Linked DNA regions of Homo sapiens: all the other regions are linked to region 4. Evidence: promoter capture Hi-C in 16 types of primary human blood cells and fetal thymus (Javierre and others, 2016). All regions are on one chromosome and are shown on one strand. The core of a region is centred on a gene start or on the middle of the fragment in contact, and the rest is flanking DNA. Distances in the headings are between cores, read along the strand shown. Region 1 overlaps COL22A1 (collagen type XXII alpha 1 chain). Region 2 overlaps COL22A1 (collagen type XXII alpha 1 chain). Region 3 overlaps COL22A1 (collagen type XXII alpha 1 chain). Region 4 holds the start of FAM135B (family with sequence similarity 135 member B).

Evidence for each region. The method cuts DNA at HindIII sites, captures the fragments that hold promoters and counts their contacts. A CHiCAGO score of 5 or more calls a contact.
Region 1: a contact is called between a fragment that was not itself captured here and the fragment with the promoter of FAM135B in region 4, in 3 of 17 cell types (M2 macrophages, M0 macrophages and M1 macrophages). The highest score is 13.3, in M2 macrophages.
Region 2: a contact is called between a fragment that was not itself captured here and the fragment with the promoter of FAM135B in region 4, in 1 of 17 cell types (M2 macrophages). The highest score is 5.1, in M2 macrophages.
Region 3: a fragment that was not itself captured here is called in contact with the fragment with the promoter of FAM135B in region 4 in 1 of 17 cell types (M2 macrophages); the score reaches 5.1 in M2 macrophages.

Annotation. Positions count from the first base shown.
Region 1 is chr8:138,683,890-138,690,659 of GRCh38, forward strand. COL22A1 (collagen type XXII alpha 1 chain) reads right to left here. Exons shown (of 65, transcript NM_152888.3): 37 at 5,028-5,081; 38 at 1,319-1,423; 39 at 536-580. Among named protein-coding and RNA genes, the nearest start is that of FAM135B, 190 kb to the left of the region's middle. The HindIII fragment of the contact is 3,863 bases long and covers 1,472-5,334 here.
Region 2 is chr8:138,710,083-138,717,670 of GRCh38, forward strand. It overlaps COL22A1 (collagen type XXII alpha 1 chain), which reads right to left. Exons shown (of 65, transcript NM_152888.3): 28 at 6,743-6,787; 29 at 6,145-6,207; 30 at 5,600-5,653. Among named protein-coding and RNA genes, the nearest start is that of COL22A1, 200 kb to the right of the region's middle. The HindIII fragment of the contact is 1,856 bases long and covers 1,352-3,207 here.
Region 3 is chr8:138,630,118-138,637,920 of GRCh38, forward strand. COL22A1 (collagen type XXII alpha 1 chain) reads right to left here. Exons shown (of 65, transcript NM_152888.3): 48 at 6,625-6,678; 49 at 4,893-4,946; 50 at 578-631. Among named protein-coding and RNA genes, the nearest start is that of FAM135B, 140 kb to the left of the region's middle. The HindIII fragment of the contact is 1,301 bases long and covers 2,774-4,074 here.
Region 4 is chr8:138,491,765-138,499,502 of GRCh38, forward strand. It overlaps FAM135B (family with sequence similarity 135 member B), which reads right to left and starts at 5,497. Exons shown (of 20, transcript NM_015912.4): 1 at 4,907-5,497. The HindIII fragment of the contact is 6,997 bases long and covers 2,730-7,738 here.

The DNA.
Region 1 (6,770 bases), core at 2,153-4,652, 190 kb after region 4:
CTTCATTTAATGGTAAGTATTTATTAAGTACCGATTATATGACAACTACTTCAATGTAACAGTTAAGAGTCATAGAAATGGCTGGGTGCACTGGTTCTATCTTCTCTCACACCTGTAATCCCAGCACTTTGGGAGGCCGAGGCAGGTATTACAAGACCAGGAGTTCAAGACCAGCCTGGCCAACATAGTGAAACCCCATCTCTACTAAAAATATACAAAACAAAATTAGTCGGGCATGGTGGTGCATCCCTGTAGTCCCAGCTACTCTGGAGGCTGAGGCAGGAGAATCACTTGAACCCAGGAGGTTGAAGTTGCAGTGAGCTGAGATCGCACCACTGCACTCCAGCTTGGGCAACAGAGTAAGATTTCGAAAAAAAAAAAAAAAAGTCCTAGAACCTTTAGTCAAATGGAACACGATGAGCTGAGAAACATGGAAGTGGACTGAGGTAACCGGAGATGCTTATAATCAATTTTTCCACGTTCTCTTTCAAACGGCAACTCGTGGCACCCACAGTTTTCTTGGACAAGCACTCACCTTGGTTCCTAGGGGTCCAGGGAGTCCAGGTGATCCACGGAGTCCCTGGAGAAATAAATAATACAAGGACAATCATGGAGCTGAGAGTGAACACTGACCCATCCACCACGTGCCAGGCTGACTGCATCCTCTGCTGGGGACCCAGAGATGGGTGAGACTCACTATGACCTGACTTGCACAAAAGAAACAGAATCTGGTTTTGAGCCACAAGGCCCTGGATGTGAATTCCGACTCTGCCTCCTACTGTCTCTGTGTGGCCTTCAGGAAATCTCTTAGCCTCTCTCAGTTTGCTTTCCCATTGAAGAGCCTTATTGTATAGACTTGCGCAAGTAAGGGGCAAGGCCTCGTTTCAAAGCAGGCTTTGAAACCTTCACTTCAGGCTGAAGGGCTTTGGCACTCACAGCCACAATGAAAACCATGATTCTACGTTTGGAAGTCTTGGCTGAAAGCACCAGAGTAGACCAGAAGTCCTTCTTTACGCATACCACACTTGTCCTGAGCTGTGGGGATGTGTTTGCCTGACTGTCTCTCCATGAGATGGGAGCATCTCCAGGGCGCAGCCTGTCTCATCCATCTCTGTATCCCCAGCACTGGCCCAGGCTGGCATGTGGCCAGCAGTCCATGAGGTTGTGCTGCCCTAGCCTGAACCCCTTTCCCAACCAGGCCCATTTCATTGGCCACGGTTCAATTTCTGCAAAGTTTGGCAGTTAGATTTTTTTCCTTTTCCTTCTCTAATTTTCACCTGGTTTCTACAGGCACTGGGACCCCCGACCTTCCACTTACCGGCTCTCCATCCTTCCCTTTTCCGGGTGGCCCAGGGAGCCCAGGAGCACCAGGATCTCCCCTGGGACCAACTGGCCCTGGGCTGCCTTCTTCCCCCGCTGCACCCTGGAAAGAAAAGTAGACATTTCCCAGGGTCAATTACACTCAGCACGAAGCTTTTCTATGGGGGAGCAGCTTGAGTAGGTTTGTAGGTTTCCTGGGGCTGCCTTTATGATTTTAGAAGGCCCATGCTTTCTGGGACACAGAAAGATGGACTGTGTAATGTGTGTTATAGGTTACATTGTGTTCCCCAAAATTCGTGTCTTGAAGTCCTAACCCCTACTACTTCAATGCACAGATGTGATTAAAGTTAGGATGAGGTCATACTGGAGTGTGACCCTCCCCAATGGTCCTAATCCAATATGAGTAGCGTCTTTTAAAGAAGGAAGCATTTGGACATACATGCATAGAGGCAAGAGGACACAAATACACAGGGACAAGACACCACCAATGAGCCAAGGAGAGAGGCCTGGAACAAATGCTTCCTTCACAGCCCTGAGAAGGAGCCAGTCCTGCCAACACCTTGACTGAGGACTTCCAGCCTCCAAAACTGGGAGAAAGTACATTTTTGGCTGTTTAGGCCACCCAGTTCATGATACTTTGTTACTGCAGCCTTAGTCAATCAACTCAATGCAAAACATGGAAAAGGAAAGGACGTTAGTGACGACCTCCCACCCAGTGCGGGCAAATCTATTTCCGGTGCATCTCTTACAGATCAGCCCTCATTTCTGCTTGAACTCCTCTGGGAGCGGAGACCTCACTACCACTCCACACTGGGCATTCCTTTGTCAGGTAGCTCTGTTATGCAACATTTCTTTATACTCAACCTTCTCTGAAATCTTCCCAACATTGGACACTAAGTCTGTTCCCTGGAACCCTGTAGATACAATCCAATCCCTCTTACAGTTAGGTTTTCAACTATAAGAACAGAGCCTAAAGCTGCAATGGAGAGAGCAAGAGAGAGAGAGTGTGAGAGTGCTAGCATGGGCACCGGGGTCGGCTTGAGGACCTGGGCTTTGAGCTTGCTCCAGGCCAGTGCTTCATCTTCTCTGACGACAGGGCTCTGAACAGCCCTTGTGGCGGCCCTGACTGTGGAACACTGGGTTGAGCCCCGCGAACCAGACGGACTCCTTTCCCCAGACTGGGCTGCCCTGGGTGGAAGCTGCAATCACAGTGTTTCCAGACATTCTCAGATGGAGCAGAGGTAAGGTAAGATGAGCCAAGGATATGCAAAGCAAGGATGGAGAGGGCCTCTCTCCAAGCCTGGAGCAGGATCAGCTTCCCCTAGCCGCAGGCCAGCCCCTGGACATGGTGTGAGAGGGAAAAAGTATGCTGTGATGTCCGGGATTTTTACCACTTTGCAGAGCCCTGGAGGTTCCTTTCCAAATCCCGGGCCCGGCCCTCAGCCTGGGCCTCTGCTCAGCCAAGGAAAGGCATTTGGCTCCCTCTAGAGGCTGAATGTGGCAATAGCCCACTGATTTCTGGTTTCTGAACATGCACCTGTTAGTCCTCCTAAGAGGCCATCCCCTTCCAGGTTACCAATGTCCTACTTATAATGTGCCGTCCTTCAGACATGGTATAATTAAGGAATACCAGATGAATCCAGATGTTTTTCCTTTGCTTAATCTAGGCAGTCTGAAATGGCATTATCTTCTTTTCAAAAAATGAATGTTTGTACCTGTATTACATAAGGTTTGTTATTATTATTATTTATTATTATTATTATTTGAGATGGAATCTCACTCTGTCATCCAGACTGGAGTGCAGTGATGTGATCTCAGCTCAAGGCAACCTCCGCTTCCCAGGTTCAAGCGATTCTTGTGCCTCAGCTTCCCAAGTAGCTGGGATTACAGGCATGTGCCACCATACCCAACTAATTTTTGTATTTTTAGTAGAGATGGGGTTTCACCATGTTGGCCAGGCCCGTCATGAACTCCTGACCTCAAGTGACCTGCCTGCCTTGGCCTCCGAAAGTACTGGGATTACAGGCGTGAGCCACCACGCCCGGCCCATAGGGTTATTATTAAGCCTATGATCAACACTCCAAAAACCCAAGAGAGTCTTCATAGATGTGTTGATCATTTTTCTCTGCACTAAGTTCTTTTTTTCTGGGAGACGTGTATCTTAAAATTGAACCTTCCTGCAAAAAGGCAAATGACATCTCCTCGTGTTAAATTATGCAAAAACATAAGAACTGAAGTGATTCTTTAAAAGGCACCAAGTAGATGAACTTGAACTTGAAAGAATTCATGTTAAGAAGTTTGGCCAGGTGTGTGCTAGGAGGGACCTCTGTGGACAATCCATGCCCCAATATCGTCTCTTCCTGTCCATGGATACTAGTGTGATCTGCTCACGCAGGGAGGGCAGGACACAACCACATGGTACCCTTGTCACCTGTTATCTGCTGAGTCCTTTGCACATGACTCCCCAATTCCTCAGCTAATCCTCACAACCTATGATCAATGCGGCATCACCCTCATTTTACAGATGAGAAAATCCAGGTTCAAAGAGAGTGTGCTTTATTTAGATCAGGGTTTCTCAACCTTGGCACTATTGACCTTCAGGGAGGATCGTTCTTATAAGGGGAATGTCTCATGTGCTGTGAGGTTTTTAGCAGGTTCTCTGGTCTCTACCCACTGATGCCAGGAGCAGTTACTCCCCTTAGTGGTGACAACAAAAAATATCTCCCTGGGTAAAAACCCCCTGTTGAGAATCACTTTTGTCACCCTAGCTTATATCAATGCAACTAGGGCAAGAGAGCTGGCATTTGACTCAGGTCCAAACGCTGAATCATTCAAATGAGTACGTCTGATTTCCTGAGCCCTGGCTCAGTGTCACCAATTAACCTCAGAGACATTTCCTAAGGTGCTATGTCAGAGAAATGCAGAATGGAACTTAAAAGGGTGTAGATTCTCCTTCTTGGCCTCTGGGTTTTTTTTTTTTTTAATTGGTATGGGAACATGTGTCTCTCTTATTAATAATTAAAATCTCAGGCTGGGTTCAGTGGCTCACACCTGTAATCCCAGCACTTTGGGAGGCCAAGGCGGGTGGATCACTTGAGTCCAGGAGTTTGAGACCAGCCTGAGCAACATGGTAAAACCCCGTCTCTGCAAAAAATACAAAAATTAGCCAGGCATGGTGGCGCACACCTGTAATCCCAGCTACTCAGGAGGCTGAGACATGAGAATTGCTTGAACCCGGGAGGCAGAGGTTGTAGTGAGTGGAAATCACACCACTGCACTCCAGCCTCAGTGGCAGAGTGAGACCCTGTCTCAAGAAAAAAAAAAAATCTCATAGCTTGGGAAGGTTTACGTGTGTGAGCATAGGTGTATAATGGATAAGTTGGTGCACTGAATTGAGAGAAAACAGGATTTGGAGTCAGACAGACCTAGCTCTGTAGCTTATTTGCTATGAGACACAGAGCAAACTAATTAACTTCTCAGAGCCTCAGTCTCCACATCTGTCTAATGGGCACTTGTCTGATTCTCAGGTCTGTTGTGAGGAATAAATGAGCCAATGGGATGGCACAGTCTTCCTCTCCCTCCTACTTAGTAAACCCCTTCTGATTGCTGGTTCCTAAACCAGGCCCGAGCAGAGTGAGCTGCTCCTTCAGTGCCTGTAAGAAGTTAAGGATATTCACTTGTGTGCTGAGAGATCATATTGGTCTTACCTTCTCACCACGCTCCCCATCTTTCCCTGGGGTGCCTCTGAGGCCGGGAGCACCCTGTGGCAAGGAAGATTACGGACATGGTGAATTTAAAGATGACTGGTCACTCTTGGTGGCTCGTGACCCCCAGGGAAGAATCATCAGGTCCCCCTGAAGTCAACGACTACAGCTCCCACCCAATTCCCATACTTTATTTAAATTCCCCAAAGCTCCACCTCCTCCCTGCCCATGACTGCTGCTCTCCCGGGGGGGGGGCTGGCCTTGTAACAGTGCACATCAGAGCTCTTAACAGCAGGCATGGTCTGCTGGAAGCTTTACCGCCTGCTCTGGAATGTGAACTATCAGAAGGCGTGGCCTGGCACAGTGAACACTCTGGGAAGATGAGGATGGCCTTAAGAACCCAGCCTTAGCATTGGGGCATCTGCTCCAACAGTGTCTTTGGAGTCCCCAAAAGGTTGACTTTGAGACATGGTTTAAGTGCAAGCGTCCCATGGATGCAATAGTAGGGAAACAGAGAAGCAAAAAGGGGAGAACACTCATGCCTGTAATCCCAGCACTCTGCAAGGCCAAGGCAGACGGATCACTTGAGGTCAGGAGTTCAAGACCAGCCTGGCCAACATGGTGAAACCCCATCTCCACTAAAATACAAAAATTAGCTGGGCATGGAGGCACGCCCCTGTAATCCTAGCTACTTGGGAAGCTGAGGCAAGAGAATCACTTGAACCCAGGAGGCGGAGCTTGCAGTGAGCCAAGATCATGCCACTGCACCCCAGCCTGGGTGACAGAGCTAAACTCCACCTCAAAAAATAAAAATAAAAATAAATAAAGCAGGGGAGAACAGGCAGCAAGAAATACACTTGCTGGCCACTGGAGCTCTGTCCTGCTGTGACTCTGGGATCCTGTGCAGGACGTACGCTCAGAGCGATGACAGCTGAGAACAAGTGATCTGAGCTATTCTGCTGGTGGTGCTGCTGGCCACCCATCACGTGGCTCAACAACATACTCTTTAGAGGCCAGAGAAGACTCCCAGCCAGAAGAATGCAGGCTGGGCTGCAGGAAGCCTCCATGTAAAATAATAATATTCCTCCAGCAGGGTTGCTGTGTGGATTAAATGAATGAACACATATTCCTCCAGCAGGGTTGCTGTGCAGAGTAAATGAATGAACACATGTAATGTGCTTAGTACCATGCCTGGCATGTATAAAGGCTCAGTCCTCTAAGCTACTATGCTTATTACCTATAAAGGCTTGATGAAGAAACAAGACTGACCTAAATCTATTGTAGGGGAAAAACGCTTTGTTGCCCTTGACTAGATGTCATGGAGTGTTTTGTTGAACAATGTTCAAGTCTAAATTGGTGTTTATGGTGAATCTTAAAGCTGGTCCTTTAGCGGACACCTTGGGCCTCGACATGGAAAAGGCAGAATCTCGTCAGGCCAAAAAAGATGCAACCCTAAAGGTGAAGCAGCCAAGCTATTGTCTCCATTTTGCAGATGAACTAGCCGAGACCTCAAGGAGGGGCTTGCCAAGATGGTCATGTCAATTAATAAAAGAGCTGGATTCGAATCCAGGTCCCCCAATAGCCGTCAGGGGACCTTTGACTTCTTTAGGTTCATTTTCTTTCTTCTGAAGCAAACTAGGGTGTTGATTCCAACACCAGTGAAATGTACAGACTTTCTGCAGATGCCAACAGCTGCGTTTACCCTCTGGATAGCTGGCGAGTTGCCTAGGGCTCAGGTGTGTGAAC
Region 2 (7,588 bases), core at 1,030-3,529, 220 kb after region 4:
TTTATAAATTATTTTACCTACTTTGGCATGTTTTCTCTTTGCAGAACAATGATGCTGATAATACATACAGCTCACAGCATGGCACAGAGATTGAGCAAGACCGTAAGGAGTACGGTGTTATTACATTTGGCCTGAGGAAAGGACGTCACTGAGCTGCTCCACGCAAGACAGTCCATGGTGAGTGGATACAGTTTCCAAAGCCTGTCATTTCATGTGTGCCACATGGTCCCAGGGGACAGGTGTCTATGTCTAGATCTGCTTCTTGAACCAGCCCAGGACTGGCTCTCTTGCAAGCCTTCCAAATATGGTTATGAAATAGAAAAATGTTTGAATATAGTTGGCTTAGAGAGAGACAAGTTCGCCCTTAGTCAACAACAATAATATGATTATAAAATGTTGTATCCTTTTCTACCATTATTTCTATTGTTATTTAGCATTTGATTCCAGCTCCTGGTTTAAGTAGTTTCCATGTGTGAATCCATTTCATCTTTGTAGCAATGCCCATAATCTATCTATCTATCTATCTATATATATATATCTCCATTTCACAGATGAAGAAACTGAGGCATAAAAATGTCAATGAACCTGCCCTAAGTCACACATTCTGCAAATGGCCGAACCTGGTTTTAAGCTCAGAATGCATGCCCTTTACAATTGTGTGGCATTGCTCTGACTAAAGTTCCAGTAGCTTCAGAAACAAAAGCACTTTCTTGGTGTTACTGTGTATTATTTGATTTTACCCAATTCTCTTCCTGACATTGTTGAACTCAAGCTCCAGAACCAATCTCATCTAAACCAATTTACTCTCCATTAAAATGTCCCAATGATCAAAGTTAAGTGTTTTCCCAGTTGAATATATGAATGGGTATCAATGAGAAGAGGGCTGGAGGAGAGATGTGTCTCTCACCCTGAGGGCATGAAGACTGCCTTTTGGAAATAGCCTCCTCATCCTGAGGGCTGTGGACAAGGGAAGAACAGCGAGCTGGAGCAGGTAGACCCATGGGGGCTCTCTGCCTTTGGAAAAGAGGCTTGACTAAGAAGGATCAATGGGTGTTAGGGTTGATGCAACAGGCCTGGGTTCTAATCCCAGCTCCTCCATGACGTGTTTGACTGTCAGCGCCCCTTGCTGGAACAGGAGCATCACACACACCCTTCCCTGATGCTGTGGGCCTAAGTGCCAGTAATGGGGAAGAACAGGGGACGTGAAGGGAGAAGCAGAGGCAGAGACAGGCAAAGCACAGTCAGAAGAGGGCAATGTTGCCTTAATGTCTTCTTTTGGATTTTCTGACCAAAATTGTCAATTATCACATATTTCTCTGGAGGAAAAGAAAGGCAAACCAGATTCTTTGGAAGCTTGAATGTGACTGCCATGGCCCTGGCAATTCCGTCCAAGTAATCAAAGGGGCTTTATGGTCTCGCTAAGCCTTTGCATTCTGGAAATGAGTTTCTCAAATAGAAACTGCATTTCTGAAAAGTCCACGGCAGCAGCAGGCCTGAATGGCTTACTGAGGCAGAGCCTTTTCCACTCTGGGCTCTCTATTTATAGACCGCAAGTCTGCCTGGAGCAAAGTCCTCAGCCTCCAGCCCCAGAGAAGGAGGATGGGAGACACTGCCTGGAGCCCAGAAAGCACCTGCGCAGAAAAAGATCTGGAAATTGGAGGGGAGAAAGTAAACTTGGGAGAATGGGGCACCCTGAAAAGCATCATGCAGGAGGAGGAAGGATGCAAGAGCCCTCTGGGTGTGTGGGTGCCATTCCTCCTGAGGCAGCCCCAGGGCAGGCCTAGCGTGTGGCATTCTGTGCTAAGAGCCAGGACTTTCTATGTGCACTGGCAGGGTTTAGATCTTGACTCTAAACCTCTATTCATGCAGCTCTGCACAAGCAACTTAGCTTTTCTGTGCCTCTGTTTCCTCATCTATCAAGTGGGGATGTTGTTGACAGCAGTGACCCCTCATGGGGTTGGCCTGAGATTACCTAAGTCCCTACACAGACGGTGCTCAGGACAGTCCTGCACTCAGTGAGCCTGCCACAAGTCATCCACCAACAGGAAATCCTTATGCTCTTTAACAACTCTGAGGGTCCTTGTTGGACTGGCAAACCAAGGCACAGGAAGGTCAGGGAAGATGCCACACAGCAGATAGAACCAGGACCATACTCCAGGCCAGCATTATGGGTCCAAGAATGGTGCTCTTTCTACTAAGCTGCAGGCAAGCACAAATAAACTCCTATGAGGGGTTTGGGGCAGGTGTTTATAAAGTTGCCGTGGAACTAGAGGTGCATTTGGTCAGAACTGAGCATGAAACAGCAAGAAAAGCAAGTGCCTGGTACAGCACCTTACTCAGGGTGGGACTCCCAACCCTGTCCATGCCTGTACCCCCTTTAGAGCCAGTAGAGGGTAATGGTTCTATCAGCATCTATCAGCAGGGTGTATGTGTTCTACCAGCAGAGAGTACATGTTCTATCAGCAAAGAGTACGTGTTCTATCAGCAGAGGGTAAGGGTTCTACCAGCAGAGAGCATATGTTCTCCTCAGCAGAGGGTACATGTTCTATCAGCAGAGGGTATGTGTTCTATCAGCATAGGGTAAGGGTTCTGCCAGCAGAGGGTAAGTATTCTACAAACAGAGAGTGAGGGTTCTACCAGCACAGGGCAAGTGTTCTACCAACAGAGGGTACATGTTCTATCAGCAGAGGGTACATGTTCTATCAGTAGAGGGTATGTATTCTATCAGCAGAGGGTAAGTGTTCTACCAGCAGAGGGTAAGGGTTCTACCAGCAGAGGGTAAGTATTCTACAAACAGAGAGTGAGGGTTCTACCAGCAGAGGGTACATGTTCTATCAGCAGAGGGTACGTGTTCTATCAGTCTTCTTAGACAATGACTGTCAGAGCAAATGGACGTATCTTTGGTGAAAGGGTAAGAACTAGAAGCACAAGTTAGAATCTAGTAGAAAGGATGTCAGTCATTGTGGTTGAAAGCACGTATTTTAGAGCCCAACTGTCTGGACTCACACCCACCCTCACTCTGTAAGCCTGGGCAGAAAACATAGTGGAATTTTTAGAGACCTGCTTGGCAAAAGAGCCCTTCGACTGACGAACTACAGTTGTGTGAACCCCCTATGTCTGGTGGACTCCTGGGGTGTGATGAGGTTTTGTCGTGGATGGGGTGGGGGGGCGGTGCTTTAGCCTGGAGTCAGCATGTGGTCCCAGCCAAGCTTTGGTTCTGTGAGTGTGGGTAAGACAGTACATCTCTCTATGCCTTAGTTCTTTCACCTATAAACTGGGGGTTAAGACGAAAATGACTTCATAGTTCATTGTTATGAAGATCACCAGAGTGAGCAACGGAAAACTCAAGAAATTGCAACTTGCAAAACATACTGAGTATACGGAACCCATGATTTCCCCGCACGCTGTTCAAGCTCACTCTGCTTTAGCAAAGGATCTTGTGTTTCAGACAAATAGGCCCGTGGACAAACATCTCGTGCATGTGCGGTTTTGGCAACAGCTCACGCATGTGTCAAACTAATCAGCGATTTTCCAGTGGACAAATTCTGACCAAATCATGCTGACTCCAGTCTAAAGCCTCACCCCTGACTCCATCCACAACAAAACCTCATCACACCCTATGAGTCCACCCCCACCGCCCCGCCGTAGGGGGTTCATGCAACTGCAGTTGTCTCACCAAGCAGATCTCTAAAAATTCCATTATGTTTTCTGATCAGCACAGGTTTCTCTGGGGCTTTGACATGAGCTGAAATATTATAGATGAAGTACCTACTTGCACCTCTAGACCAGACACTATCCTGGGTGCTGGCTTGGCTCCTGAGTGGGGGCTGCTCTTCTAAGAAGGGGCTGGGACCAGGGATCCAAGTCCTTAGGAGGTGAAAATAGTAAGGGACTTTCCTTCCCGGACCACGTGTGCCAAGTTAGGGTTCATCATACTCTCCAACCTGTTTTTGTAAAAGAAGGTTGGAGAGAGTAGGCATACATCCTCTGTTACACTGTGATTTAAAAAGTGCATTCTTCCTCCTTGAACCTGCCCGCATGTTGCCAAAGGCAAGTGGCAGTCTGGAGCCTCCCTCCAAAGCAATCAGAGTCAGACCCTGTGGGCTGGGCTGGCCATGCAGTCCCACCCGTGGTTCTGTAGGTTAGGCGTGTATCAAAATCTCTCTGAGTCTCAGCTCTTTTCACGTGCAAAACACGCTTATGGATACCAGTGGCTGTTTTCTGTTTGTCCCTTTATATCCACTCCTGTTCCTTTCTCCATCCCAGGAGGCAACCTCAGTGGTCTCATTGACCTCATCCCCTGGATCCCAGTGGTCTAGTAGGAGATGGAGAGGACAGAGAAGGACGGGATGAGATGCTGAGGATGTCAGGCCAAGGAGAACTGGTTTTGTCTGTTTTTCTGCCCAGAATGACTGCCAGGCTCCTTCTATGGCTGCCAGCCTCTCTGGACTCTGGGACAGCTCCCTCCCCTTGTCCTTTCCCACTCTTGCTCTTCCTAGTCCTGGAGGGTATGGCCACATCCCATCGGCTTCCCTAAGCACTGTCCACAACCTGCAATTACTCTGTCATTGAATTCTCTTCCACTGTCCATTTTGATTGTGCTGCTCCTGATGGACATGGTGTCTGCCTGGAAGACAATGCCAACGAAGCCTCTCTGTGCACTTCAGGGCACACAGTAGGGCTCCACAAATGCCATGATGCCCCCTTGATTTAGATACAGTCTGCCTGGACTCAGGCTGGCTCCAGGGTCAACCACACAAGCAATGACACGCTGGGCTCATGAACGATGCAGGGGAAAGGATATAGGAGTCAGGGCACATGGGGTTTTTGCTCAGCTCGTTCTTCACACCCCGCTGGTGCCTCCATTGCCCTCACACCTGGGCTAATCATGTCTATTATACCTGTGAAAGGGGCAGTGGTGTTCAGAGAGAGATTGAACGTAAACAGGCGACACAGAGCACTCAGCACAGGACAGGAGCTCAGGCAGTGCTTGCATGTCACAGGCACAAAAGGGTGGATGGACGGATGGATAGTGAGATGAAGGTGTCAACTCCAATACTATTATCTTCTTTGTAAGTTTATAATTGCAAACAATAAAGTTTGAGGTTTATGTCTAGCGTATTATTTTCTCAAAAAGCAGCTGTGGAGTCATGAACGCAACTAAATTCTGCGGAAATGTAAAGATTCAGTACAGGCCGGGCATGGTGTCTCATGCCTGTAATCCCAGCACTTTGGAAACCCAAGGCAGACAGATCACCTGAGGTCAGGAGTTGCACAGGAGTTCAAGACCAGACTGGCTAACATGGAGAAATCTCGTCTCTACTAAAAACACAAAAATTAGCCAGGTGTGGTGGGGCATGCCTGTAATCCCAGCTACTTGAGAAGCTGAGGCACTAGAATGGCTTGAACCCAGGAGGCAGAGGTTGCAGTGAGACGAGATCATGCCACTGCACTCCCGCTTGGATGACAGAGAGAGACTCTCATTTTAAAAAAAAAAAAAAAAAAAAAAAGATAGAGTATATTCTGCAGAAAATCTCTTCCTTTAGAAAAACCCAACTAATAATAATTGATGGTCAGAATGAGAGCAAGTTTCTCCTACCTTTTCACCTCGGTCACCTTTCAGTCCTGGAAGTCCCAGTTCACCTTTTTCTCCCTATAATAAAAGATAAAATTAGAAAACATTAGAACCCAAACCGAGCTGAATTCCTGCCTCTTCAAGGTAAGAGCAACATGACTTTGGAAAAACATACATGTATATATTTCTCTCTCTCACTTGTCCTTGCCTTATCAGCAAAGTGGCCACAGTGAAGTGTAACTCAGAGGGGAACTAGTCAGTTAGGCGTGAAGCACCTCATTCTCCATTTGTCCCCTGACAGATGGTGCCTTCCACCCCTCAGCCCCATCTGCCTCCTCTGAAAATGCTCTGCCCTTTCCAGAGACATCTCCCAGCAATGGTCCTTTGTCCCAGCTCAAGGACCCAAGTAGTCTTATCCCCTTCCCCGTCCCTTCCATCAACACTGAGAAATACACTCTTCACCCAGTCAAAATTATGACTGTCCCGAGGGACTGAGACTCCACAGGGGGCTGCTCTCTGTGGAGATGGGCGAGGTTCCTGTGTGGGAGGAAGGAAGCTGCCACACTTACCTGGTCTCCTTTCTCTCCTCTCACACCTGGGAAGCCTGGAGCCCCTGGGAGGCCTGCTTCTCCCTGTGAGAACAAAATATTCACAAGGCGTCAACAGGAAGGCTCTCCCAGGGGCCAAGCTGCAGGCCATGTGCTCTCAGTTCCTGCTCTCCAGGAACTGGAGATGTTCTGGCTTAGTGGACATCACATGGAAAGCAATGCAGTGGAGAAAGCGGAATTCTAGAGAATTTCGTTCACTAGGGCATCCCCAAGCTCTTGTCTACTTCAGCTGTTTCCTTTCCCAGGAACCCTTATTTTGCCTCTCCTGGTGTCTAACCCTTCCTGTTTCTTTAGGACTCAGCAACAATGTCACCTTCTCAGCATCCTTTCTGACAGTCCCCAAGTCTGGGAAGCCCTCTCCTATGCCCCCAACACCTGCAGGCCACCACTCGTGACATCTGTTCAATTGTTCTTCAATGTCCAGTTTATCCTGGACATATAGTGAGCTCCCAAAAACCAGGATTAATTCCTCTTGGCATCTAAATAATTTATACAAGATGTAGCGTATAACAATGAATGAATGAATAAAATGAATGAATAAAAGCACAAACAAACAGACCTTCTCTCCAGGTCGGCCTGCCAGGCCCTGCTCCCCAATTTCTCCCTGAAAATGCAATAAAACATACCCCATTATTCTCCATTCACTTTAAAGAGATGACTGCCATTTCCCAGTTGTCCTCACACATTCATAGCACCTGCCAGCCACAACCCTTAATTTTCAAATATACGGCATGGTTAGAGGCCCAAGAGTCATGGGCTCTGAAGACCAAAGTGTTTAGCATTTTTGCAGAGCAGAATCCACTTTCTCATATAGTCTTTTGCTTTCCCCAAAAGAAACAACTCTTAGAACTGTCCCATTAGAATTTATTTTTTAATTTTTTTTTATTTTTTATTTTTTTTGAGACGGAGTCTCACTCAGTCACTCAGGCTGGAGTGCAGTGGCACCATCTCGGCTCACTGCAAGCTCTGCCTCCCGGGTTCACACCATTCTCCCACCTCAGCCTCCCGAGTAGCTGGGACTACAGGTGCCTGCCACCACGCCCAGCTAATTTTTTGTATTTTTAGTAGAGACAGGGTTTCACCATGTTAGCCAGGATGGTCTTGATCTCCTGACCTCGTGATCAGCCTGCCTCGGCCTCCCAAAGTGCTGGGATTACAGGAGTGAGCCACTGCGCCCGGCCAGAATTTATTTTTTTATTTTTAGTTTTAGTTTTTTTAGAGACAGGGTCTCACTCTGTCACCCAGGCTAGTACAGTGATGCAGTCATAGCTCATTGCAGCCTTGAGCTCTTGGGCTCAAAAAATTATCCCACCTCAACCTCCTGAGTAGATGGGACTATAGGCACATACCACCACTCACAAATGATTAAAAAAAAATTCTGTAGAGAAAGAGTCTCACTGTGTTG
Region 3 (7,803 bases), core at 2,174-4,673, 140 kb after region 4:
TGGCATTGAAACCAAGAGTGGTTCTGGCAGCTTCAAGAAATGAAATCTGGATTTTGAGATAAAAGCCTTCGGTTCAAATGCCAACTCCACTGGTTGCGGTTTGGGATCCTGGACTAGTGACTTCTTTTTAATTCCATTCTCCTCTTTTGAACAGTTGGGATAACAATAGCTGCCTCTTGTCTGACATTCCCCTGGTGCACACCATAGTCCTAGGTGAGTTAGCACTGAGCCTTTCCACTTCCCTGCACCTGCTCAATATAGAAACCACACTGACAAGAAATTGAGATATGGGGCCTAAATGTAGGGCTTATTTGCATTGACAGTTGTAAACTGAATTCTGGAATCACAGATCTTCATATCATTCCAACCAAACCTTTACTTTAGCAGCAAAGTAAACAGGGGTCCAACAGAAAGCAAACCCTCCAGCAGTTTCATTGCAAGACTTGTAGTGAACAGAACCTCAAAAATATGTGAGCCACAGGAGGCACACAGGACAAGAGCAGAATTGGCAAACACCTGGGGTTCCAGAAAGGCTAAAGACAGATTAAAAACAGATCCCATTCCTTGAGGAACTTACAGGTGACCCTTGGATTCCTGGTGGTCCAGCAGCTCCTGCAATTCCATCTGCCCCCTAAAAAAGACAAGGCAGAAAGCTAGTTTCTTGTGCATCTAGACAGAGGTCATTAGCACCCTCTGCTTTGAATACAAAGCAATTGATATGGTTGGTTATCTGTCCCCTCCAAATCTCATGTTGAAATGTGATTCCCAATATTGTAGGTGGGCCCTGGTGGGAGGTGACTGAATCATGGAGACAGATCTCTCACGAATGGTTTAGCACAATCCCCTTGGTGATAAGTGAGCCCCCACTCAGTTCATGCAAGATCTGGTTGTTTAGAAGTCTAGGACCTCCCCACCTTTACTCTCTTGCTTCTGCTCTTGCCATGTGACACACCTGGCCTTCCTCTATGATGGGAAGTTCCCTGCGGTCTCATCAGAAGTCAAGAAGATGCTGGTATCATGCTTGTACAGTCTACAGAACTGAGCCAATAAAACCTCTTTTCTTTATAAATTATTCAACCTCAGGTATTTCTTTGTAGCAATGTAAAAACATCCTAATATAGCAACACACAGATCTTACATTCTGTGCCCCTTCCTAGCTTCCTGAACCATAAATATTTCAAATGTGCTTCTGCCTCTTCATCAGGCTGAGCTATTCTCTGGGAATACATGATGTTCAGAGAATAGCATCCACATTTTAGGACGGGCCAATGCATTAGCCAGGCAGTCACCCCTTTGAAAACAGTAAATGAACTCACTTCAGGATGGGCATTTTCAGCTAATATCAGGCAACATTTCAGGACAAAAAGTAATAAATGGACAACTCGATTTATCTTCCAGGAGATTAGGAAGGCAATTGCTGTGTCAACTCAAGGGTGAAGAGATGCACAGATGGATGAATGGAAGAAGACTTCTATGCAGCCGAGCAAGCAGCTCAAAGTGAGCTCCAGGCACACTTTTGCTGGGGACTCTTGCATATGCTGTTTCTTCCCCCTACATTCTAGTCCCTCACATATGCACAGCCTCATACCCTCCCATCCTACAGGTCTTAGCTCAGATATCAGCTTCTCAGTGAAAGGTTTTCTGCCTACCAGACCCAAAACTGAAAGACCTACCCTTCCTCATCCCTGCCCTGGGGAGGTCCCTTTTCTGTCTACCTTCCTCCATAGCACCTGCAAAAATCTGACATGCTAGTGTTTATTGATTTCTCATTTATTTAGTGTTCCTCATTGGAACACTAAATTTAGTTCCTCATTGGAACTAAAACAGTACCTGGGATATAGTAAATAATCAATATTCTTGAATAAATGAATGAATTAGAAGTTGAACTGACTGGGTTATGAAGGCAGCAGTTCTTTAGACAAATTCACACATGTGCCTCTTACTAGCTTTGGTTGAGTCATGTAACATCTCTCAACTTTAGTTTCCTTCACAGTGAAAGGCTGGAAATTGCACATGCCATTAGGAAGGGGAGGAGCAATGCGGCAATGCTTACAAGGTGCTAGGCACAGAAGAGAGGGTATTGGTTAAGAGTGCAGCCTCTTAGAGTTCGAGTTCCTGAGCCCATATCCCATTTCTCCACTCAACAGCTGTATAAGCCTAGGAAACCTACTTGACCCCTCTGTATTTCAGTTCCTTTGTAAAATGAAGGAAAAGAACAGCACCTATTTTACATGGGTTGTTGAGAAAATGGAATTCATGACACATAAGGAGTTAGCACCAGAGAAATGCTAAGGGCTGTCCAATAGGGACCTTCCATGAATATAAGTGTCTATTGTCCACCCACAACAAGGAATCCTGCAGATATTAACTAAATATAAAAGCATAAATAAGCAAGTTCCCGCAGTACTCTATTGATGTCTTTCCAGCAGCCTTTATTTAATTGTTGCATACTTTTATCAAGCGCCTAAACTGTACTAGGTACAAGCCAAATTTTAGAGATGTAAAAATGACTACATCATGGTCTTGGATCTCAAGGAAATTTGATATAACTGTAGAAGACCTGTCTTATTTTCCATGTATGACAAACTCCTGGGGCAGGGTGCAATCAGATTTGTCTCTATCACTTCTACTAGGTAGGGACCCAGTAAATGTTCATGAAATAAAGGGAGAGTGATAATATTTTAACAAGTAACCTAAGGTTCATGCTTTAATTAAATATGTAGTCCAAAGCTAATATAACAAATCTAGATTTTTCCACATAACTTTGATAAAAAGCTTCTGGCATCCTAGAGTCTGGAATCTTGCCAAGTTGAAAAAAAATTCCCTACTGCATATGGGGATGGGGTAAGTGTTTTATCTGGAATAAGGATGCTGACTGAGCACCAGAAAATAAATACTAAAAGAAAGGGCTTTGTCAGCTCGCTACCCATATCCCTGCATATTTCCAACAGGGCCTGACAATTAATAAGCACTTGAAAACAAGCAACAACAAAGAGCAAAACTAAAACAATGCATACATGACCAGAAAGGTTAATTTTCTGCTGTGGAGTTGCTTCTGCATGATTGGCTGCTGAACCTAAACAGGCAGCTGCCTCAGCATCCATTCTCACAGGCTATTAACAGTACAAAGCACGACACAAAATAGAAGCTCAATAAACATCTGCCAAGTGAATTGAAAGCATTAATCAGCTGGAGACAGACAAGCTGGCTTCTGATTATGATTGTTTCTGGGCCTCCAATACATCATCTAGCATGAGAATAATAAGCCAGGAGTCATTTCCTACAGCAGTCATAGAGTTCTAACTTATTGCAGCTTCCAGTGAGAACAGATCAGGATTTTGGTTTCATTGGGAACATGTTATGGGGTTTGGAACTACCAGGGTGGAGTGGAGATGAGGCTGTAATCCATTATTCATTTTCTGAGATCCTCAGCTGTTAAGGAGCACAATGTCATTTAGGAAGCTAATGTCATCATAATATACAATTATTCGTGAATAAACTATTTTTTAAGTAAAATTAGTTACCTCTCAATTGCCCCTCTTTGCTTAACACTAACACCTCTCCCTACTACTGATCGTATCAGCATCATTATCAGTTTCTCTTTTTGCTGATTGTCAGATGCTACAAAATCCAATAATATTCAAATACAGTGCAAAGCAACTACTAAGTGAAATTATAAGCCTTGAAAGAATTGTAGAATTTTGTGAAGTTAAATGACAGCAAACTGATAAATTCCCTACAATATCCTTCACAAATGTGCACATGGCAGAGTTGGGCCAGGTAAGATGTGAGGCTGAGAAATTAAAAATAATATTAACATCAAAGGCGCTTGGGAGGAAAATGTGTTGAATATTAAAGACTTAAAGTAGGCTTTCTGGGAAACTGAATAGTGCTTTTGTAGATAATTTACCTTTTTGTGAGTTTGCTCTAAAAGTCAACATGAAGTGAAAGATGCCATGTCATGCTTTCATCGGATTTTATTGAAAATATACACTTAAAACAACTTAACTTATTCCACTAATTAACACACAGTTAACAACTAGAAGTTGAGTTGTTTAAAAAGATGACAAAGCAAGCTTAATTTCATATATTTTAAATTTATACTCCTAACTGAACTTCTTTTCACTATACTTTCAAACAGGGTATTTCCTATTTGAAGGGGGATCCTTTTCGGTGGTCTTTCAGTCATTCCAGAAATCCTCTCCTTGCAAGGTCTGGGACAAGGGTCTCATGTGGAACCCATGGGAAATCCCAGGGGACTGGTCCTGGGCTTGGCAGGAACACTAATTTCCAGTGCCTGTTGCCATGGCTACCCATGATGGATATGTGGGCTGCAACAGCAGTGGACTCTGATCAGAGGAGGAACATGACTAATCTATGGGCAGCCTACACTGAAGGCAGAGGGAAATGGTGAGAAGGGCACCAGTCAATGTCAAGGCTACAGCTACTGTAAAAGCAGAGAGAACATTTGCTCAGGGGGCCCAGTGGAGATCATTGAGATAATATCAAGACAGGCTCCCCATAACATGGGGAAAGCTGCTTACAATTTCTCATTTTCTACCTTCTTTGCTTGCCATCATAATCTTGAAATACTAGCTTCCTACCCACCAAAGCTCAATTTGAAAAAAGAAGAAGTCTGTCTGTCTTTGCCAATGTCCCCCAGTCCCAACATCACTCTAATTGCATGGTCCATCAAGCCTACTCCAGACCGTCTGCACTTTCCCCCACATGCCTGTGGGACTTGCATTTTTAGGACAACTCTGTCACCTTTTGGGTGTTGGGCCATCCCTTAAAATGAGAGATATGCTCAGTGTCATACCATGCCTGGTGAGTTGAGATGTGCATTCAAATGTCAAGGCCGAAAGAGGAGGGGATTAAAGATGATTACTTACTGGTGGCCCAGGGTTCCCTGGGGGCCCCATGAAACCTGGAACTCCAGGATGACCCTAGGAAAACACAAGATGCAATTCTTTAAAATGACTTGAAAAATACTTTTTACTTTGTGCAAATATCAAATTTCAGAAAACAATACAGAATCCACCTTCCAACCCTACTAACAATTTTGCTTAAAGACACTGACAATAAAAGGGACTTCTTTTTATATATCTCAATAATAACTGACAACATTTATAAAAACAAACATGTCCTGAAAGCGGATTTGCTTCAAAATAATGTGTGGGCAGGGGGTGTGGAGAAATGGTTGAGGACATAAATGAAAACAAGAGGGGCCATAATAATTGAAAGCTGTTGTGGTTAAGTGCAGGGTACATAAATGTTCATTTTATTACAGTCTTTATTCTTTAGATATGCTTGAAGTGTTTCATAATAAAAACATAAAAAACAAATAAATGCACAGAAACACAATGTACACAATGGAAATGGTTAGGTTAACTGAATTACAGCCTCCATATTCTGGCAATATTACAGTTATTTTAAGCAAGAGATTTGTTTCTCCATGTGTAGAGGAGTCTATTGCATATTATAGAATGAGCTGAAAAAGTTATAGAACAAAGCTTGGAATCTAACACTTAGTCTTGTACAACAATGTTATGAAACCAAATAAACCACCAAGAAACAAATGATTTCTCTGCCCTCCACCTCCAAGCCTTACCACTGAAACCACAGGCTACACCATTCAATGTAGAGTACATTGCCTTTGATAAGTCATTCTCATAAGAATAATCCAAACACATTTTGTTTTTCCAAATACAGAAGAGATTTTAGCCAAGGAGCTCATTCAGACTTTGAGCACTGCTCTCATCTCACTGCCTGTGGGTTACTCGTTCATGTCCCTCATGCCCTCACTGAACTGCAAGCCCAGTGAGGTCAGGAGTTTGTCTGCGAGTCATTCCAGATCTCAGAGCCAGGTGCAGTGCCTGGCATGGAATTGGCTGACAATGAGCACTGGCTGTGAGATGCAGAAGAGAGGGAGAAGTAAAGGGGAGGGCAGCTGGGAGAGGAGAGAAAAGAGAACAGGGAAAAGGATGACAGCAGCAAAGCAGAAGGATAACAGTCATTTCCGTTGGCAGGAAGGGTGGTAGAATTGGACTGGGCAGAAATCAGCTGGTTGTGCTGGATAGAGGATGATAGGTAGGCCATGCTCAGATCCACAGAGAGAGCAGTGAGCCCTTATTGGTACCATCCTATAGCACATTAGGAGCAGTGGTCCAGCAGGCCTGGATGGGCACTGATCTGATCAGAGCATGGAGTATCTGTGAAGCATTTCAGCTAGCAGCAAGAGAGCCAGGCAACAGTTAATTGAGATGATGGGAGGGAAGAAGGGGGAATTTTTTAATGAGTGTCCATTTCAGTGAAAAAAAAAGTAAAGGTAAAATAGTACAAAAAGAAAGAAAAGAGAAGGAAGAAAGGAAAGGAAAGGAAAGGAAAGGAAAGGAAAGGAAAGGAAAGGAAAGGAAAGGCAGGGAGGCTTCTCCAATAATTGAGGGAGAGAGGGCACTTAGAGTGAACCAGAGATACCAAGATGAAAACCATAAAAATGAGATTTTAAAAAATCCTGCTACAGGCAAAGAAGAGACAAGGAATGACATTGTACAATGGAAGCCACCTGGGAGAAACAGTGCTCCTTCCTCAGGGTGAATGGTTCCTTATAAAGTAAATTTTTACCTGATCACCTTTCTGCCCAACCTCACCATCTGCACCACGTTCTCCTTGACTTCCCTTGAAAGGAAAAAAAAGAAAAGAAAGATGTCACTGGAAATTTTAATAGGAAAACAAAAATCATTTTCATGCATTCATTCATCCATTCATTAATTCTCCAAAAATCTCTTATCAAGTTCCTGTGGTAGCTCAGGCACGGTGGCAGCAGATAGATAGAAACAGGGCCTGGTTGAGGATGTGTGATAAAATGGCTTAACTGGGATTTGGGGTATGGGGTTGGAGAGCGGGCAGCAGGAAAGGGGCCAGGGAGGCAGGCAGGGCTCATTTCTTTGAGAGCCTTGCATGTCAACATCTGATGTTAGATTTAGTTGTAGGCACTGGAAACCATTAAAAGGATGTGAAATTGTCCTAGGTTCTAGCTGTGGGTATAGTGTGGGATAGGCTAGTGGTCCAGGCTATAGAGAAAAGGGTCAGTTAAAAACAAGTGGTGTTCCAGGAGTGGCAGGAAAAGAGGCAGAATAAACCCAGGGTCTGCAGGCCTTGCAGAACAGGTGTGAGGGTGAGGGAGAAGGAGAAGTTTAGATGGTGGCCAGCAGGAGCAGCAGCACCAAACGGGAAGCTTTGGAAGAATTTATCCATACATAAGTTCCTTGCTCCCTCCCTTACTAGCTGTGAGACTTTGAGGAGCCACTTCACTAAAACTGCTCAAGTTGTTCGTTTGTTTTGTAACCTACAAGAACAAGAAAACAATGATGCCTACCCTGTGAAAATGTTAGAGAATAAAATAACAAATGGGAAACACTTGGCATAGAGCCCAGAACACAGTAAAAGCTCAATAAATCTTAGTCATAATTATTATCTTCTTTATTTTGCCACTTGCTAACTGTGTGTCATTGGACAAGATACTTAAACTCTCTGTCTTCTTACTTCTAAAATGAGAATCATAAAATAGTATCTTTGTCATGGGGTTACTGTGAGAGTTAAATGACCTAAAATATACAAAGTGCTTAGACTTATGACAGGTTGTGTGTTAGCTCTCAAAAAAACATTAGCTATCATCATTCTCATTGTCAGTATCACCATGATGATCATCATGATCATTATCATCACCATCACCATCATTATTATTCCATAACCATCATCACCATAATCACTATCATAATCATGATCACCATCAACATCAGC
Region 4 (7,738 bases), core at 4,247-6,746:
TAGGTGGTAAGGGTGGGCTAATGATATGCTAAGGTGACATTTGAGTTGCAGCCAGAATAAAGTAGGGACACCCAGTGATTACCAGGGAGAAGAATGTCCCAGGAGGAGGGAGTAGCATGTGCTGCTGAAGATCAGCCAGGAGGCCAGGGTGGGTAGAGGTGAGTGGCTGTGGAGGAGACCAGGTCACAAGGTGGTGAGCCGGGTTGGAACAGGGGCTGAATGTCGTGTAGGTTGCAGGTCATGGGAAATGCTTCAGATTTTACTCTGAGTTAGAAAACCACAAAAGGGCTTTGAGCAAAGAGTTTAATCTGATTTTAGTTTTATAAAGATCTCTCTGGCTGCCTTGTGCACAGTAGACACTGGGAAGCAGAATAGAGGCAGGGACATCAATTCAGAGCCTGGTTTATTAGTCCTTGCCTTCTTCTCTCACGGTGGGAGGATGGAAAGAAAGCCTGAGTATCAACCATGACCCCTCCTTCCTCTTGACCTATCAATGGTCAAAGGTCCCTAGAATGTCTCACTGATATTTTTGTGAGATAGGAAGCAATCTGTTCATTTCTCTGATACCTTCCTTCTGTTCCTCTCTACTATTCCTTCTCACACTATTTCTTCTCTGTCCTTCTCTTTTTCCCACCTCTCATTACCTGAAGTCAAGCATCTCTGCAGAGCCTCCTAAGAGGCCATAAAATCTTTGTTGGATCTCGCTAACCTGGCCTCTATCACAGCTGGGGAGAGCATCCTGCCCAGGTCTAGACCTTTCTGTGACTTCCTATGGCCTTCTGTTAGAGGAAAAGACTGGCTTGCAAAACTCTCAAACGTGTAACCCTACCATCTCCCAAGCCTCAACGGACACCACCTCACCCCTTGGCCTCTTGTTCCAGCCCTGCGGTTCCTTTCTCTTCCTTGCTACTTCTTGTCTCCAAGTCTCTGCATGTTGCTCTCCCTTTCTGATTGCCCTTCCCTCAGGTCTGCATGTGGAGATTCCTTCAGACTCAGCTTAGACTCTCTCTCCTTTAAGAAGGCATCCTTGACAGCCACCACCTAGGAAATATGTCGGAGGCTCCTCTTTGTTCCCGCAGACCCCCGGCATTGCCTGGTTTGTTCTTGCCGATTTCCATGCCTGATCCCCCAACTACATATTAAGCTCTTGAAAGGCAAGGACCTTGTGTTGTCTACAGTTGATTCTCAGAGTCTGGCATGATGAGTGACGCAGGGCAGGCTACTTATGCAAATGCCCTGTACCAGGCACATCACAGCACCACTCCATCCACACCGGAGGTGGAGGGAGGGCCACAGATCCCAGGCTCACAGTGCCACTTTCCTTTGTGATGCTAAAATCTCCCTCACGAGTCACTCCTGAGATGGGTGTGCAGCCACCTAGAAATTATTCATGTTTGAGCAGAAACATTTGACGTTTCTGAGCACCCAGTGTCTGGATAGCTCAGCAGATATTAGCGATGTCCGTGAATCTCTGCCAGCTCTCTCAGGTAAGATCAGACTTGAATCTGAATCTAAATCTTTAGGTCATTCTGCTCCCTCCTGGTGTCTCCCATGTGTAACCAAAGGAGGTTCTTGGTGGTTGGGACCATGACCATCTTCTTAGTTCTTCTTCTCTTGTAGAACTGTAGGTGAAATACAGGGAGGAGACTCATTTGGGGCATTTCAAAAAATTCTGGAACCCTCTATTATTGGCAATTACATCTATCATTTGCAAATTACAGATATTACGTATTGAGTGCCTGGCATGGCATTTTTCTTTCTGTGCATTTGCCTATCTATCTTGAAAGGTGGCTATCATTACAATGCTATGCAGATAAGGCAGATGGCTGGGGGAGCAAAATGATTTACTGAAGGTCACACAGAGCTAGTAAGTGAAGGAGCCAGCATTTGAAGCCCATGTGATGCTGTGAAATTAGACAAGGATTTTGCTCATTTTCTAGGACGAAAATTAAGGAAAAGAACAAATTTACTTAGAGTATTAATATTTTACAGTTAATGAACTACTTTTATGGCACAGCTATTAATTCGCTCCAAAACTCGACATCCCTGTGAGATGGGTATTCACATCCACACTTTATGAATGAGGAAACTGAGGCACAAGACAATCAAGTGCACTAGTTCCAGGTACCCTGAAAACTGAGATTAAATCTAGGCTATCTTAATCCAATGCTTGTGCTTTTTTACTATACTGGAGCTGAAATCAAGGAAAGAAATTGAAGCGAGAAAAAGATATTTCAAGTTTAAAATATTCCATCAGATGTTTTCAGCAAATGTTACATGAAGGCCATTCAACACCAGATTTCAGTTATCCTAAAGTGCCCACTTGAAAAAAAATGAGCATTTTAAAGCAAAATATGTGCTTCTGTTCTCCTTCACTTTGCCTCAGTGGGTTGACCCTAAATAATGCACAACAAGCCATGGAGCATCCTCCAGGCTTGCCACACAGACCGAGATGGCAAAAGCAGCCAGGAATGGCCTTTCTGCAGCCTACGTCTGCACAGGTGGTCATGTTAGAAGTAAGGCTCATTCACTCATTCAACAACCATTCATCATGGCCATGGCTGCACCAGGTGCTGCAGCCACAACCAAAGTCAGATAGGGAGAGGCACCTATCATTGGGAAGCATCAAATCAACAGAAAGGACAGGTATGTGTGCAAGCGATGACACAGCACAGTCCATCACAAAGGAGGTCCAGAGTGTTGTGGGAGCACATGAGAGAATATGGGAAAGCTTCCTATAGGAAGGGGCATTTGAGTTGGGTTGTTAAAGGAAGAAAGAAGTGAGAAATTGTTATTCTAGGCAGGGACACCACCATGAGCAAAATCAGGGGCATAAAAGAGCAGAGAATAGTATAAGACAGTCTTGGTTCCTTCCAGAAATTATAATTCCTTCAGCAATAAAATCAACCTGTCAGCATTCAGTCTATTTCAGTCAAATTGAGCAAATATTTGGTAAACACCTGACATTACAGAGCAGAGTTGGATGAAAGTAATCCTGCCCACGAGAAACCCACAACCCGAGGTGAACAGTTAAATGAGTCCCTACTCTGTCTAAATCTCTGTTTATACTGTAAAAAAAAAAAAAAAACTTAATCCACCCATTGTGAGCAGGCCTCACTGTTTCAAACTAGACGAGTGCTGCATTTGATGGCAAAGCACTTGACCTTCAGCACTTGTAGGCAAGGTGGATGGCATGCAGCATTTTCCCCTGAGAAGCCCTCTTTATGTTGCCCTGAGTGAATCTTGGACCAGACTACAGTGTTTCCACTGTGAGTCACTGACTAATATTTCCACTCTCTTTTCGTAGTTGATGGATGTTTAATGATTTGCCAATCTGAGGAAGAGAGATTCTTTAGAAAACAATAATCCCTTTTACTTGCACAAGACATCAGGTTTTAAAAAGCCCTTCCCAAACATCCTCTCCACATCCCATTGGATTGTGATTGAGCCTGGTAAACTGCAAGACTTGTTAGTTAGTATCCCCATTCTCCAGATGAGAGAAAGAAGCCTCAGTGAGGTGGAACAACTCAAGGTCACACAGCAGGTGCATGAGGAAATCAGAGTTCAAATCCATGTTTTCTGACCCTCCAATCTGGTCCACTTTCCTCTACACCTAACCATCTGTCTAAGCTCTGATAACATCATCCATATTATGACATAAATCTCCAGATGAGAGGTTGGCCAAATCACATCCCCTTGGGTAACATAACCACACCATAAATTAAAAGCCCAATTAAAGAACATAGCCTTTTAACTGGGACTTAGACTGTCCCCCGAGGCCACGATATAAAGGAAGAGCCCTTTCAAAGTCAATGGCTGCCTATCCTGGATATTATTCAGAGGCCTACTTACCTACATGCACGAACTTTCAGACCCTAATTATTCACATGCTATCTTCCTTCTTCCGGGGCCCTGGTCCCAGCTGATCTGAGTTTGTAATCACTCCCCAAGCTCTGGCCCTCTCTCCAGCCTGCAGATGTAGTTAACAGTCCATCACACTGTATGGACAGCCCAGGTGCCTCTCGGCTTTGACACATCACTTAACATCAAGAGCATCATAACCTGATGGAAAACAATGCCCCCTGGTTCAAATGGACAACTGAAGCGGTGTCTCCAGCTGTCTGAAAGCGAGATAGTTTGCCAGTGGCCAAGGAGCAAGGATTGTCACTATGAGCGATGTGATTCTTGTTTTGCTGGCAAAGTGGGGTGGGGAGCTAGAAATGAGGTGGGGAGAAGGGGAGGGCATAGTCTTGACTGCTAGCTCAAAATTTTATTTCTATTCCCATCCTATCCCTAATAGTCAACGGCAATAACATGATACTCCTGTGTCCCAAAATAATAACAGTTACTACTTGCCTCGTCTAAACATCCCCTCCAGTGACTGGGCTTGAAGCTGGCTCTACAGATCAAGAGCTGGTCCCTTTCCATGTCACAGCTGAGCTGCAGTGTCCCCGCACACCCCTGTCCCCAGCCAAGCCACAGGAAGAACGGGTCTGTGCATTCGCCTGGATCACAGGGAATCGCTGCCACTGTCCCCTCCACCCCAGTGCGGTCTTCTCCTGAGCCTGGCCCCCGGGTTCCCTGGCTCCAAGGACCCCAATGGCCAAGGTCTGCATGCGCCCCCTCAGCCTCCATCTGGGACTCCTGGGGGGAACCCCTCATTAACCCAGCCTCTCCGCTCCTTTCACAGCCCTGGCCCTTCTTATCCCCTCAAGACCTGTCCAGATGTGCAGCAAACCTGGAGGGCAGAGAGACTGGGGAAAATCGAGGGAGATAAACCACATTTTGCGGCGGAATCGCTGTTCCGTGACAGAAAGCCATCCAACTGGCAACCACGCTTGCAGAAGCGTCACTACCACCGACGAGAGAGTTTTGCAGCTGCCGACCCCGAAGCGCTCTCACCTACCTGTCTCCACTGCAGGGCTCCCCTCTCTCTCCCCCGGGGGCCGCGCTCCTGGGTCCCTCTCTCTCCTCTTTCGCCGTCTCTGGCCGCCAACAGTTGCGGCGGCGGCGGCGGCGGGCGGACTGGGGAGTCCGCAGCACCTGCGAGCTGGTGTTGGGTCCCCGCGGCGAGGCTGCCTGGAGGAGGAGCGAGCGGATGCTGCCCTCGCCCGCCGCCGCCGGTGCTGATGCGGTTGCTATGGTTATGGAACCCCGCAACTGCCCCCCTCTCCGTGCAACAGCTGCCCGGCCGCGGCCTCCGGGCAGCCCCAGCGAGCAGGCGCCAGGACGCGAGGCTGTCAGCGCGGTCGGGGGAACGCAGCCGCCAGCGCCGCAAGAAAGCAAGGACCGACCGGCTGCGCCCGCGCCGCTGGGCTGGCGCCTCCCGGGCTGCGCTCACCTCTGGCGCCCTCACTCCTCTCCTTCCTCCGCCGGGACGCGGCCAGACCCTCCGCGCCGCGCCGCGCGCCCTCGCGGCCGGGAGAGCCCGCCCTGCTGCTCCCGCTGGCTCCGCTCCGCAGCCGCTGCGCACCGCGTGGGTAGACGCTGCGCGACTGGCTGGCGGCGCGGCTCACGCGCTCCCACCTCGGTCCCTCTCCGCCGCGAGGCCCTGATGGGAGCCCGGGGCGGGCCGCCCGGCGGCCAAACCCCGCCCGCTCGGCCGCCCGGGTGCCCAGGGCGCAGGCTGCGGCCCCGCGTGCGGCCCTCCCAGACTGACCGGCGCGAGCATGCTCAGTCCCCGCGGCGGGGCTCCCCTCTCGAGCCAAGACCCCAGGCCTCGGGCAGGAAAAGGGTCCCTGCAGATATCCGGGGGCGGGGCGCGGCGGAGAACTGGCTGGGAGGGGACTGTTGAACTTGGAAGAGAAGCCCAGGCAACAAGTAGATGCCTGAGAAAGGGTAAAAGCGCTGAGCAACCCATACCTCCAATGCGAAGTCAGCAGTGGCCTTCAACCAGCCAGCCGGCCCGTCATCCGATGGGCTCCTCACTTCATGCTGAACGTGGGGGTTCACAGACGTGTGAGATTCTGTCCACGGAGGAGGGAGAGGAAGATTGGGGAGGGTTAAGCCAGCTCCCGTCTACTGAGCATTCTTAAGGGGCATTGGGAACTCTAATTATCACCACCACTGTGCTGGCAAGTTCTCGTGGCATGCCTGTGACAGATGACAAAACAGCCTTAGAGAAGGAGCCAAGACTGGGACTCGGAAGCCCAGTGACCCGTCCACTAGACTCGGCTGCACTAACTCCACCCAGGAGGAGGCAGGGAATGGAACCAGGCATTAGAGGATGACTATGTCCCCCATTAGACTGGGCTGCACTAACTCACACCCCAGGAGGAAGCAGGGAATGGAACCAGGCAATTGCAGTTGGCAGGAGGAGTCTCTAACCCTGTCAGGCTGGGGGCAGGGGCAAGTAATTGGGGAAAGATACCTGAAAAAAAGGTATAAGAACAAATGAGTGGGGCGGTGAAGGGTAGAGAAGACTGCTCTTTCCAGGACAAGAGGAGCAGGGTACAGAGGCCTGGAGGCAGGACAGAACAGCAGGAACCTAGCAGCAGCAGGCAAGGAGAGGTGAGGCAGGCGAGTGGTGAGGTTTACAGGGCAGGCACTGCACACCAAAGGCCTTGCGATCCAAGTGAAGGGGTTGGAATTTGACAATGTGACCCTTAGGATGGGAAGGGAATGGGGAAGGTGGTGGGGAGGAGGGCAGTGAAGCAGTTTAAGCAGGAGAAAGGCTGGGTGGGAATGAAGGGAAGATCACCTTAGTTGAAGTGTGTGTGGTGCTGGCTAGGGTGGGGATTAAGGCTGCAGAAAGAGGTGTCCTAAGGAGGCTGTTGACATAGTGGGCCTGGGCAGATGGAGGCTCTGAGCTATCTACCCTGCTTGTCCTCCCCACAGCACCCAGCAAGCCCAGGGCAATGCATACCCTCAGTAAATGTTTGGTGAATGGCAAATAAATATGAATTTCTCAATAGAGAAAATGGGTGCTTTTCTTTTACAATATTTGTCTCTTAAATGTGTTCATAACCATATGGCATTTATTTTGCTATTGACATTGCATTTTTATGCAACCTTATTTTTGAAAGTCAGTGCAAGCACTCATTATTTTCCTCTGCATTTTCTAGTCCCCAGCAGTAGAGATATGCCAGGAGCATAGGATTTACTTGTATTGGATGTATTGTCTGGATAAAACAGCTCCATGATTTATTAAGTGAAAAAGCAAAGTGCAGAATAGATAAAATAAGATAATATTAAAATAAGACAACTGTTGTGAAACAAGGAGACAGATACACATATTTGTATTGCTTGCATTGGCATAAAAATACGCTAGAAGGCTATGTAAGAAACTTGGAGAAGTAGCTATTAGCTATGAGGGTGAAGATGGGTGGAAGAACTAGGTTGACGAGGTTAGAGTGAGAGTGAGAATTTTGACATACACTATTTTTTTGTTTCTTGAGACAGGGTCTTACTTTGTTACCCAGGCTAGAGTGCAGTGGCACAATCTTAACTCACTGCAGCCTTTAACTCCTGGGCACAAGCAATCTTCCCACCTCAGCCCCTCCAAGTAGGTAGGACTACCATGCCTGGGTAATGTTTTTATTTTTTATAGACCTACCACCATGCCTGGGTAAAGTTTTTTATCTTTTGTAGACCTACCACCATGCCTGGGTAAGGTTTTTATTTTTTGTAGAGATGGGGTCTGGCTATGTTGCCCAGGCTAGTCTCAAACTCCTGGGCTCAAATGATCCTCCTGCCTCAGCCTTGCTGGGATTATAGGTGGGAGCCACTGCACTTGACC